3 separate regions of the Homo sapiens genome follow, and all the other regions are linked to region 3. Evidence: promoter capture Hi-C in 16 types of primary human blood cells and fetal thymus (Javierre and others, 2016). All regions are on one chromosome and are shown on one strand. Each heading gives the region's core, a stretch centred on a gene start or on the middle of the fragment in contact. The rest is flanking DNA. Distances are from core to core; before and after follow the strand shown. Region 1 has its middle 82 kb from the start of SLC25A26. Region 2 overlaps MAGI1 (membrane associated guanylate kinase, WW and PDZ domain containing 1). Region 3 holds the start of MAGI1 (membrane associated guanylate kinase, WW and PDZ domain containing 1).

Evidence for each region. The method cuts DNA at HindIII sites, captures the fragments that hold promoters and counts their contacts. A CHiCAGO score of 5 or more calls a contact.
Region 1: a contact is called between a fragment that was not itself captured here and the fragment with the promoter of MAGI1 in region 3, in 1 of 17 cell types (endothelial precursors). The highest score is 8.7, in endothelial precursors.
Region 2: a contact is called between a fragment that was not itself captured here and the fragment with the promoter of MAGI1 in region 3, in 1 of 17 cell types (endothelial precursors). The highest score is 5.1, in endothelial precursors.

The regions. Positions count from the first base shown.
Region 1 is chr3:66,137,306-66,140,420 of GRCh38, reverse strand. It overlaps a transcript of SLC25A26 not described here. Among named protein-coding and RNA genes, the nearest start is that of SLC25A26, 82 kb to the left of the region's middle. The HindIII fragment of the contact is 548 bases long and covers 1,085-1,632 here.
Region 2 is chr3:65,915,138-65,918,213 of GRCh38, reverse strand. The region is part of intron 1 of MAGI1 (membrane associated guanylate kinase, WW and PDZ domain containing 1); the gene reads left to right. All of the region lies in intron 1 of MAGI1-IT1 (MAGI1 intronic transcript 1), which reads left to right. The region is part of intron 2 of MAGI1-AS1 (MAGI1 antisense RNA 1); the gene reads right to left. Among named protein-coding and RNA genes, the nearest start is that of MAGI1-AS1, 23 kb to the right of the region's middle. RefSeq lists a silencer at 2,366-2,660. The HindIII fragment of the contact is 1,187 bases long and covers 1,149-2,335 here.
Region 3 is chr3:66,037,230-66,040,264 of GRCh38, reverse strand. MAGI1 (membrane associated guanylate kinase, WW and PDZ domain containing 1) reads left to right here and starts at 1,347. Exons shown (of 23, transcript NM_001033057.2): 1 at 1,347-2,269. The coding sequence starts at 1,957. LOC105377128 (a long non-coding RNA gene) reads right to left here and starts at 1,312. Exons shown (of 2, transcript XR_001740440.2): 1 at 1,067-1,312; 2 at 1-213. RefSeq lists a silencer at 1,260-1,379 and an enhancer at 2,332-3,035. The HindIII fragment of the contact is 5,984 bases long and covers 103-3,035 here.

The sequences.
Region 1 (3,115 bases), core at 109-2,608, 100 kb before region 3:
TTTTCTTTGAGGAGCCACCCTCTCCTAGTCTAGCTGTCTTGGTGATGCTATCCACAAACTCCACCAACCCCTGCCCTAAACTCAGGGCTCACAGGATGAGCACATGACTCAACGGAATACACATTCCATTCTTCCACCTCTAATCATTGGTTCAGAAAAGGCGCATATCCAAAATTGGTCAAGAGATGTAATTCCTGATCTTTTGCTAGAATAACAAAGAACCTCTTTCCATTGTACTTGCAAGTGTTAATACATAGGCATGGAGCATCTGAACACCAGTAATGAGAGCATCCTGCAAATGAAGCCACCATGAAAGAGAACAGACCTGACAGCCATTCTGAGCACTAGAACCAGCCATACCTGAAGCTCTGATCTCTCAGTTCCATGAGCCAGTAAGTTAGTAAGTTAATTACCTTTCTTGATGTGCTTAAACGAATGAGGTTTTTGGGTTTTTTGTCACCTACAACACCTTGAGAAGGATCAATAGCAAATAACATCTATTAGGTTAAGCTTGGGGCCATAAATCCTTAAACTAATTTAGTGTTTATGCTCTCATCATTCAATAATTCCCTTATCTTTTCATCTAGTCTGCATTACTGCCTGCAATAATTTGCCTGACCCACGGCTTTAGCGCTTAGTGTGAAAGAAGTAACTCAAGTAGAGTAAACAAATGACACTGTGAGTACATTAATGCTTCTGACCCTATAATGTCATCTTTTAAATAGGTTATGCATGTGTAACACTGCAGCCGACCATCTGTACTGCTTATCTAAGTTCTGTAATGAAATGGCCAGGGCCCTGTTTATTTATGTGATACAGGCAGCCTCCCTCTAAATCTAATTCAATCTTCAGTCACTGTTTTGTAGGCTAGGAGCTCTAATGACCGCGAAAGAAATGTGTGCTGCTTCAGATGATGCTATTAAAAGAAACTTGTTCCCAAAGAAATTTTTATCTCCTGATAGGGGGGAGCTAAATCACTATAAATTATGGAAAAGGAAATTGCAAATGTATCTTGCTTTCTTTTTATTGGAGGCATTGTTTTCTCACAACTGTCAAGTAGAGCATACACCTATTTTGAAAAGCTTTTAACAACTTTGAATTAAGCAAAAATGGAGAAATAAGAGGCTGCAGAATTAGAGAAGCTAATGCAACCCTGCTTTGCAAAGCAAAGGCAGGGTTTCACCATTCCTTTTTTATTCACAAATGGCACTATCAAGGAGGTGGGCGGGGTGGCACAGAAGGTGAAACAGAGAAAAGCAACAGCAAAATACAGTAAAGAGAAGTGAGATCATCAGGAGAATCATAAGAATCTTGAAAGGAAAAGCTGAGAACTTTAGAATTTCATTCTCCTGGGGCAGAGGAAAAGAGGATGGGGAGGGGAGGAGGACAGGAGGGGTGGGGCAGCAATTTGAATTCGTTTCAACTGAATAAGTAATCAATCAATCTACTCCTGTTAGTGTGAACTTGGATCTTATAAAAAAGAATCTCAAAAAGAATGACTGTTTGTCTTTCCTGTTCATCACGGGGGATTTCAGTGGACTCAGGACCATTACTATTCACATTAATCACACAGTGGCTGTGCTCAGCAAAGCCAGCAGAGGGAGTACAAGATTAATGGGTGGCTTCCAAGCTTTGCCAAGGAACCGATGCCCGTATCCAGGACCTCCCAATACGGTTTGTGAAGAGGAACCTCTGGCTCTCTCCCATGCCTCCTTCCTTAACTGCTTCCCTTCATCTCCCTCTTCCCCTACCCCAATACATCCCTACCCCCCCTCCCCCTGCATCAATCCTCCCACCAAATTGTCTGATTTGTCATTTGGAAACATTTTACCAGAGAATTCACAGGTTGACATTCTGTTGGCCAACCCCATGACAGATGGGAAAGAAAGGCCCCAATGTAGGTCAAACAATAAAAATCATGCTGGATGGATTTTGAGTGCCAAGCAAAATCTAACCTTAGGAGAAAATAACAGGTTGCAAAATTGCATGTGTACTAGGATCTCAAGTGTATAATATTTTTAATTATAGAAAAAAAGAGAAATTTATCAAATTAAGAATGGTTGCCCTGGAGTGTGATGTGTCTGAAGGGGGGTGAGATTTGTGGGATGATTTTTTTCTTCCTTCATTGCATATTTCCATACTTCAGATGTATACATTGTATACGATGTATACATTGAACAGCTTTGATCACCATAGGAAAAATAAAACATTATAAATGCCCATGTTTATTTTACGTGTTCACATGCAATACTCTCTGTTTAATAATGCCATAGAAAATGTTCATGTGGGCCGATCATGGTGGCTCATGCCTGTAATCCCAGCACTTTGGGAGGCTGAGGCGGGTGGATCACTTGAGGTCAGGAGTTCGAGACCAACCTGGCCAACATAGTGAAACCCCGTCTCTACTAAAAATACAAAAATTAGCTGGGTGTGGTAATGCACGCCTGTAATCCCAGCTGCTCTGGAGGCTGAGGTGGGAGAATCGCTTGAACCTGGGAGGCAGAGGTGGCAGAGAGCCAAGATTGGGCTACTGCACTCCAGCCTGGGTGACAGAGCGACACTGTCTCAAAAAACAAAAAAAAGAAAAAAGAAAATGTTCATGTGACTATACTAACTAGCTTTGCAAAGGAAAGAAGAAAACAAGCTCTTATGGAGTCCTAGGTGCTAGGAACTGTATTAGGAGTTGGGGGATAACAAGATGAGTTAGACACACTCTGACCTCAGGAAGCTCACAGTCACACAGAGCATCTTATTCCCTTCTCACAATGACTCTATGAGTGTCTTAGGCCATTCCTGCTGGTCTCACAAAATACCACCAACTAGGTAATTCATAAACTATAGAATTTTTTTTCTCACAGTTCTGCAGGTTGGGATGTTCAAGATCATAGTGTGGGGCTGGGTGTGGTTGTTCATGCCTGTAATCCCAGCACTTTGGGAGGCCAAGGATGGTGGATCCCCTGTGGTCAGGAGTTTGAGACCATCTTGGCCAACATGGTGAAACCCTGTCTCTACTAAAAATACAAGAAATTACCCAGGCCTGGTGGCAGGCCCCTGTAATCCCAGCTACTCGGGAGGCTGAGGCAGAAGAATTGCTTGAACCTGGGAGGCAGAGGTT
Region 2 (3,076 bases), core at 493-2,992, 120 kb after region 3:
ATAGGAATTCATGTTTACTGATTCTGACCCTACCTCAGTGTGTAGATATTCTCTTTGTAACTGTAAAATTAGTTTCATTCTTTTATTTTTCTGAGTAGCTGTTTAAAAACAATAGACTTCGTTAGAGCATTTTTAGATTCACAATAAAATTGAGAGGAAGGTACAAAGATTTCCTATGTACCCTCTGCTTCCAGCCTGTGCACAGCCTCCCCCATTATCAACGTCCCCCACCAAGGTGGTACATTTGTTACAATTGATGAACCTACATTGACACATCATTATCACCCAAAGACCTTAGTTTACATTAGGGTTCATTCTTGGTGTTGTACATTTTATAGGGTTGAACAAATATGTAATGACACGTGTCCACCATTATAATATACAGACTAGTTTCACCGCCTAAAAATTCTTGGTGCTCTACTTATTTATCTCCCCACTCCCCTAACTTTTGATCTTTTTACTGTCTCCATCGTTTTGCCTTTTCCAGAATGTCAGATAATTGGAATCATATAGTATGTAGCCGTTTCACATTGGCTTCTTTCACTTAGCACTATGCATTTGTAAGTTTCCTCCATGTGTTTTCATGGCTTGATGGTGTGTTTCTTTTTAGTGTTGAATCATATTGCCTTGTCTAGATGTACCATAGTTCTTTTATCCATTCATTTACTGAAGGATGACTTGGTAATTGCACATAAAGCTTTTATAAACTTTCATGTGCAGGTTTTTGTGTGGACATAAGTTTTCAACTCCTTTGCTGAATACCAAGGAACATGATTGCTAGCTAGATTGTGTGGTAAGATTATGTTTAGTTTTATAAGAAACTGCCAAACTGTCTTCCAAAGTGGCAATATAATTTTGCATTCCCACCAGCAGTGAGTGAGAGTTCCTGTTGCTCCATATCCTTGTCAGCATTTGGTGGTGTCAGTGTTTAGGATTTTGGCTTTGCTAATAGGTGTGTAGTGGTATCTCATTGTTGGTTTTATTTTTCAATTTCAAAAGTGCTACTAGTGATGTAGAAGGATAGAGGAGAAAGGAAACCCTGTAGCCCCATGTAACTCCTCATCCTTTAGAGTTAATGGTATAATATGTATCTTTCTAGATGTTTCTCTCTTTATGTGTAAGAAGGTGGAAATGTCTAAGGATAAGCTTAAGAAATAAAAACAGATTATTTCAATTACCTTTGACATTATAAATTTAAAATATAAGAAAACACCTGGCAGTCCAGACAAATTTTTAAAGAAGTCAAAGTTAACTTTTTTGGACCATTAATATATTACGTGTATGATTATCCAAGATTTTAAAAAGTATACAATGAGAACAGTAGAACTTATCCCTGACAACTGTCTTCTCCTATCCTCATTATTTCATTATTTGGTTTCTCTGGAGGTAGTGGCAGGGTGTGTGTGTGTGTATGTGTGTGTGTGTGTGTTAGTGTGTGTATGATACATGTACTTAAGTAAGAAATTCATGTATATAGGCCAGGTGCAGTAGCTCACATCTGTAATCTCAGCACTGTGGGAGGCGATTGTGGTTTGGCTGTGTCCCCACCCAAATCTCATTTTTAATTGTAGCTCCCATAATTCCCATGTGTTGTGGGAGGGAGCTGGTGGGAGATAATTGAATCATGGAGTGGTTTTTCCCATTCTGTTCTTGTGGTAGTGAAAAAGTCTCACAATATCTGATGGTTTTATAAGGGGTTTCCTCTTTCACTTGGCTCTTATTTTCTCTCTTGTGTGCCACCACGTAAGGTGTGCCTTTCGCCTTCTGCCATGATTGTGAGGCCTCCCCAGCCACATGGAACTGTGAGTCCATTAAACCTCTTTTTCTTTATAAATTATCCAGTCTTGGGTATGTCTTTATCAAGCAGCATGAGAACAGACTAATACAATGGCTGAGACGGGAAGATCACTTGAGGCCAGAAATTTGAGATCAGCCTAGCTATCATGGCGAAACCCCGTCTCTACTAAAAATACAAAAAAACTGGTTGGGTGTGGTGGCATGTGCCTGCAATCCCAGCTTCTTGGGAGGTTTAGGCATGAGAATCGCGTCAACCCGGGAGGCAAAGGTTGCAGTGAGCTGAAAATGTGCCACTGCGCTCCAGCCTGAGCAACAGAGCAAGACTCTGTCTCAAAAAAAAGAAAAGAAAGAAATAGATGAATATATATATATAATATACTGTGTATTGAATATTATAAATTATATGTATATAAATATATACATATTATATATATTCACATTTTATATATGTATCATATAAATGTATATGTATTTCTTACACAGAAATGATAATAAATACACAAATTTGCATCTTGCTTTTTCAACATAAATCAAAGCTTGATTCACTAAGTTGAGTCCTTTTTTCAGGGTTATTTATTTTTAGAAATAAGGAAGCACAAATGAACTGCTTTGTCCATAGAGAGGAAAGCCAGGAAGTATAAAATGCCATTAGTTACCTGATAGTCATCATTTTACCAAGCAAAGAGAAGGCAGTTTTCAGGAAAGCATATGGAATATGGCTCTTGATGGAACTACGTGCCACTTGAAGGATACACTGGATAACCCAGAGGGATGATTCACAACCAGTGCAGCTGTAAACTTTTCTTTTAATTAGGTAGGAAGCACCTGTGTGTTATTCATCGTTTTTCCTCTTCCCAGTCCAGTCTCTTCAGGGATTTTAAAAAAAGAAAAAGACCCAAACAATTTGGAATTTAAATTTTCTGTAGGAGAAAGCAGCCAGTGTCTAAAAAGGGGCAAGTGTGCAGATCATCTGCTGGAAGACAAGGTGAGAAGAGTAACTTGAACGGGTGTGAATTTTAGAGGGCAAATGACTGTGCACATTGCAAGGTGTTTGGCATGGAGCGATGTGTTAGCATCCCGTTGGTGTTTGGATTTATGCTTCTGAATTGAGTATTTAAAAATATTTAACAGAATTAATGCTAAATATGTACAAGCTGCTGTTCAAATGTGAACAGTCCTAGCATTTGTATCTCCTGTGGGCTCTGAGCATTACCATGAGATGGCACCAGCATCCTTTCATGACCTCTGTGTGGCAAGAGGCTAAGTGAGACTGGTCATA
Region 3 (3,035 bases), core at 98-2,597:
CACTTTATAAGTGTTTTCCCACGTAATACTTCCAAGAACCCTGTGAGGTCTTGTTCTACTTATTTGATCAGCGAGAAACGGAGGCGCGGAGGTCACCAAGCTTGCTCAAGGTCACACAAGGGTGGACCCCTGAGCCTACCTCTCAACCTCGACTGCTGTGTCCATCCTTTCTTCATCGTTTCAACGTACCCCCCTCATTTCTTGGAATCTCTCCTGTGACCAAAGATGAACAAAATTATACATCACTAAAGAGGAAAACAAACTGCTGGGGAGACTACTCAGCAGCCTGATTTGAGGAGTATTTGGGAAGGGCAGCCTTCCTGTGGTATGGGAGTCTTTCTGTCCGCCACCTCGCCGGGACAGAAGTCACTCCATCCGCACCCCCGGGCGACCTCCGGAGGCCGCAGCTACCCCCGGGCTGCGAATTCCGAGTTCTCTCACGCCCCCGCGGGCGCCAGGACGCAGGGCATGTCCGCGCCCGGCGGGGATCCTTATCTCCTGGCCCCGGAGTAGGTCCGCAGGCTTCTCGGCCCTGCCAGGAACTTGAGGCCGGGGCAGATGATTGACTGGGTCCAGCAGTCTCTGCTGGCAGGGCAGTTGAAAAGCTAGAGGGATCTCTTTTTTGGTTGAATACCTGAACCCACACTAGCACCATGGCTTCTCTCTCTTGCCTGTAGTTTCCCGTGTCCTAAAAAGTTGGTCCCAAAGTTTAAGGATGCGGGTGTGTGTAAGAGCGCGTGTGACCCGCACAGGGATCCCAGTTGGGGAACCGGAGGATCCCACCGTCCCCCTCCCCCGGGTCGCAGAGACCCTGGCAGACCCCGCGCCAGGACCCGAACCCGCAAGCGCAGGGCAGGCAGGGAGGCGGCGAGCGCCCCGGGGCGGGTCTCGGGGGTTTCAGTGGGACCTGCGGCAAGGGGGGCGGCGAACCAGCCGGGCTGGGTGACCGACAGCCTGGCCAGCCACTGGCCGAGGGCGGTTAGGAGGCTTAGGGCCGGCGCGAGTGCGTGCGCGTGTGCGTGAGTGTGAGCGCCAGGGTGAGTGTGGCAGCCTCCCCAACCCCCACCTGTTTGAAATGGTTTTCAAATGCCAAAGCCAGATTGCCCGGGTTTCAAAAGTTGCAAACAGTTGGAGTAAAACACGTGTGCGGCCCTCCAGCCCCAAAGGAATCCGCGGAGTCCAGGGCACTGAAAGAAAAGGAGAGAGGATAGGGGTTCAGGAAGGGTTGGGGGGGAGTTGCCTTCTCCCGGCAGGTCGGTTTTAGGACCCATCGGGAAGCACGTTGGAATCTCTCCCTTCGGGGAGGAGGGGAGGGGTGGGCCGGCCGGCTGGCGGCCGCGGGGCGCATGCGCGCGCGTCTCCTGTCGCCGGCCGCTGCGCTCCGCGGCGCGGAATAGAATGAACTGTAACAAAACAAGCCGAGCCTTTGTATCTGCTTAAAGGGGCCGCGAGCACTTACCTCCCGCCCTGCTCCCCGCCGCCCCGCCACCGCGTCTTCAGGGCTCCCGGCAACTGGCTGGAAGGGCTTCCCTCACCCTCAGTAACAGCCTGCCAGCGAGGAGAGGCGAGCCGGGCGGGAGGCAAAGAGGAGGCACCGCATTTGTAAAAGGCAAGAGAGAAAGGAAGGAAGGAAAAAAAAATAACCCGAGCGGCGCAGAGTGGACTCTGGTCCGGGAGAGCACGGGCGGGCGCCGGAACGTGGACCCAGAGGCACCGGAATGCAAACAAAGCTCGCGGGCGCCTGTGCGGGGCTCGCGGGGAAGCCCAGAAAGTTTGTTTTATGATGGCTTGAGTGCGCGAGCGTGTGCAGGGGAGCGAGGCTGCCAAGTTTCTCTCTCCTGTTTTGTGATTTGGGGAGAGATGTTTCTCCCATGAACAAGCGGAGGCTTGGGGGCTCGTGCTGTGGGGGGCACCTGTCTCTCGTTTTATTTTTTTGGAGGAGGGGTGTAACTCATCATGTCCAAAGTGATCCAGAAGAAGAACCACTGGACTAGCAGGGTTCACGAATGCACCGTGAAGCGGGGACCCCAGGGCGAGCTGGGGGTGACGGTGCTGGGAGGCGCGGAGCACGGGGAGTTTCCGTACGTCGGAGCGGTGGCGGCGGTCGAGGCAGCGGGGCTTCCCGGCGGCGGCGAGGGCCCGAGGCTGGGCGAAGGGGAGCTGCTTCTGGAGGTGCAGGGGGTCCGGGTGTCCGGCTTGCCCCGCTATGACGTGCTGGGGGTCATCGACAGCTGCAAGGAGGCCGTCACCTTCAAGGCCGTCAGACAAGGTAAGGCAGGGCGCGCCTTTGGGGGGCGCCCCGAGAAAAGGAGGGTGGTCTGTGGGCTGCCCCTTATTCTCGATTTCCTGCTTCCCTCCTCGGAGCGCAGTGAAGAGAAGTTGAGGCCGTGCGCCCTGTGGTGGCGGTGAAATACACAAAGTTGTTGCGAGGTTGAGGGTTGTTTGCCCACCTGCGTTTCGAAGAGGGGGCTGGGTTTGCGCAAGGTAGCGGGGGGACGTTTCTCAGGCCTGGCTGGCCAACCTGTTATCTCCGCCACTAAGTGCAGCGCAGTCTCGCCTGCACCCGAGAGAGAGTTGGGGAACTGAGTCAGGGGCATGGTGGACGCTGTCCTGGCTCCTTGGGGGAGGGATGCAGCTGGCGTTCTTTGGCCACGAGTCAGTTTCCATACCTGCTGAGTGGGTATACAGAAAGAGAGGGTCTGTAGTTTATTGGACCTCCCCCATCAGAAAATCTGCTTCACCCCGCGACCCCTCCAGGTGAGCTAGGACACCACTGCCTGGCGGTTCCTGAGCCCGCCGCCAGAAGAGCCTGCATTCACCCCTCAGCCGGATGACGCATGTGTCTCCACCGTGTGGCTCAGCCATACACTTGGGAGGGGGAGAGGGGGAAGGGGTGCTTGCTTTTAGCTCGAATCGGGTCCAAGTTTACCCTCCCACCACCACCATCATCGTCATTATTGATGATGAAAATGAAGCTACTATTCATTGTTGGTTTACTACATGCCCGGCTCTGTGTAAAATACTTTACTTGCACT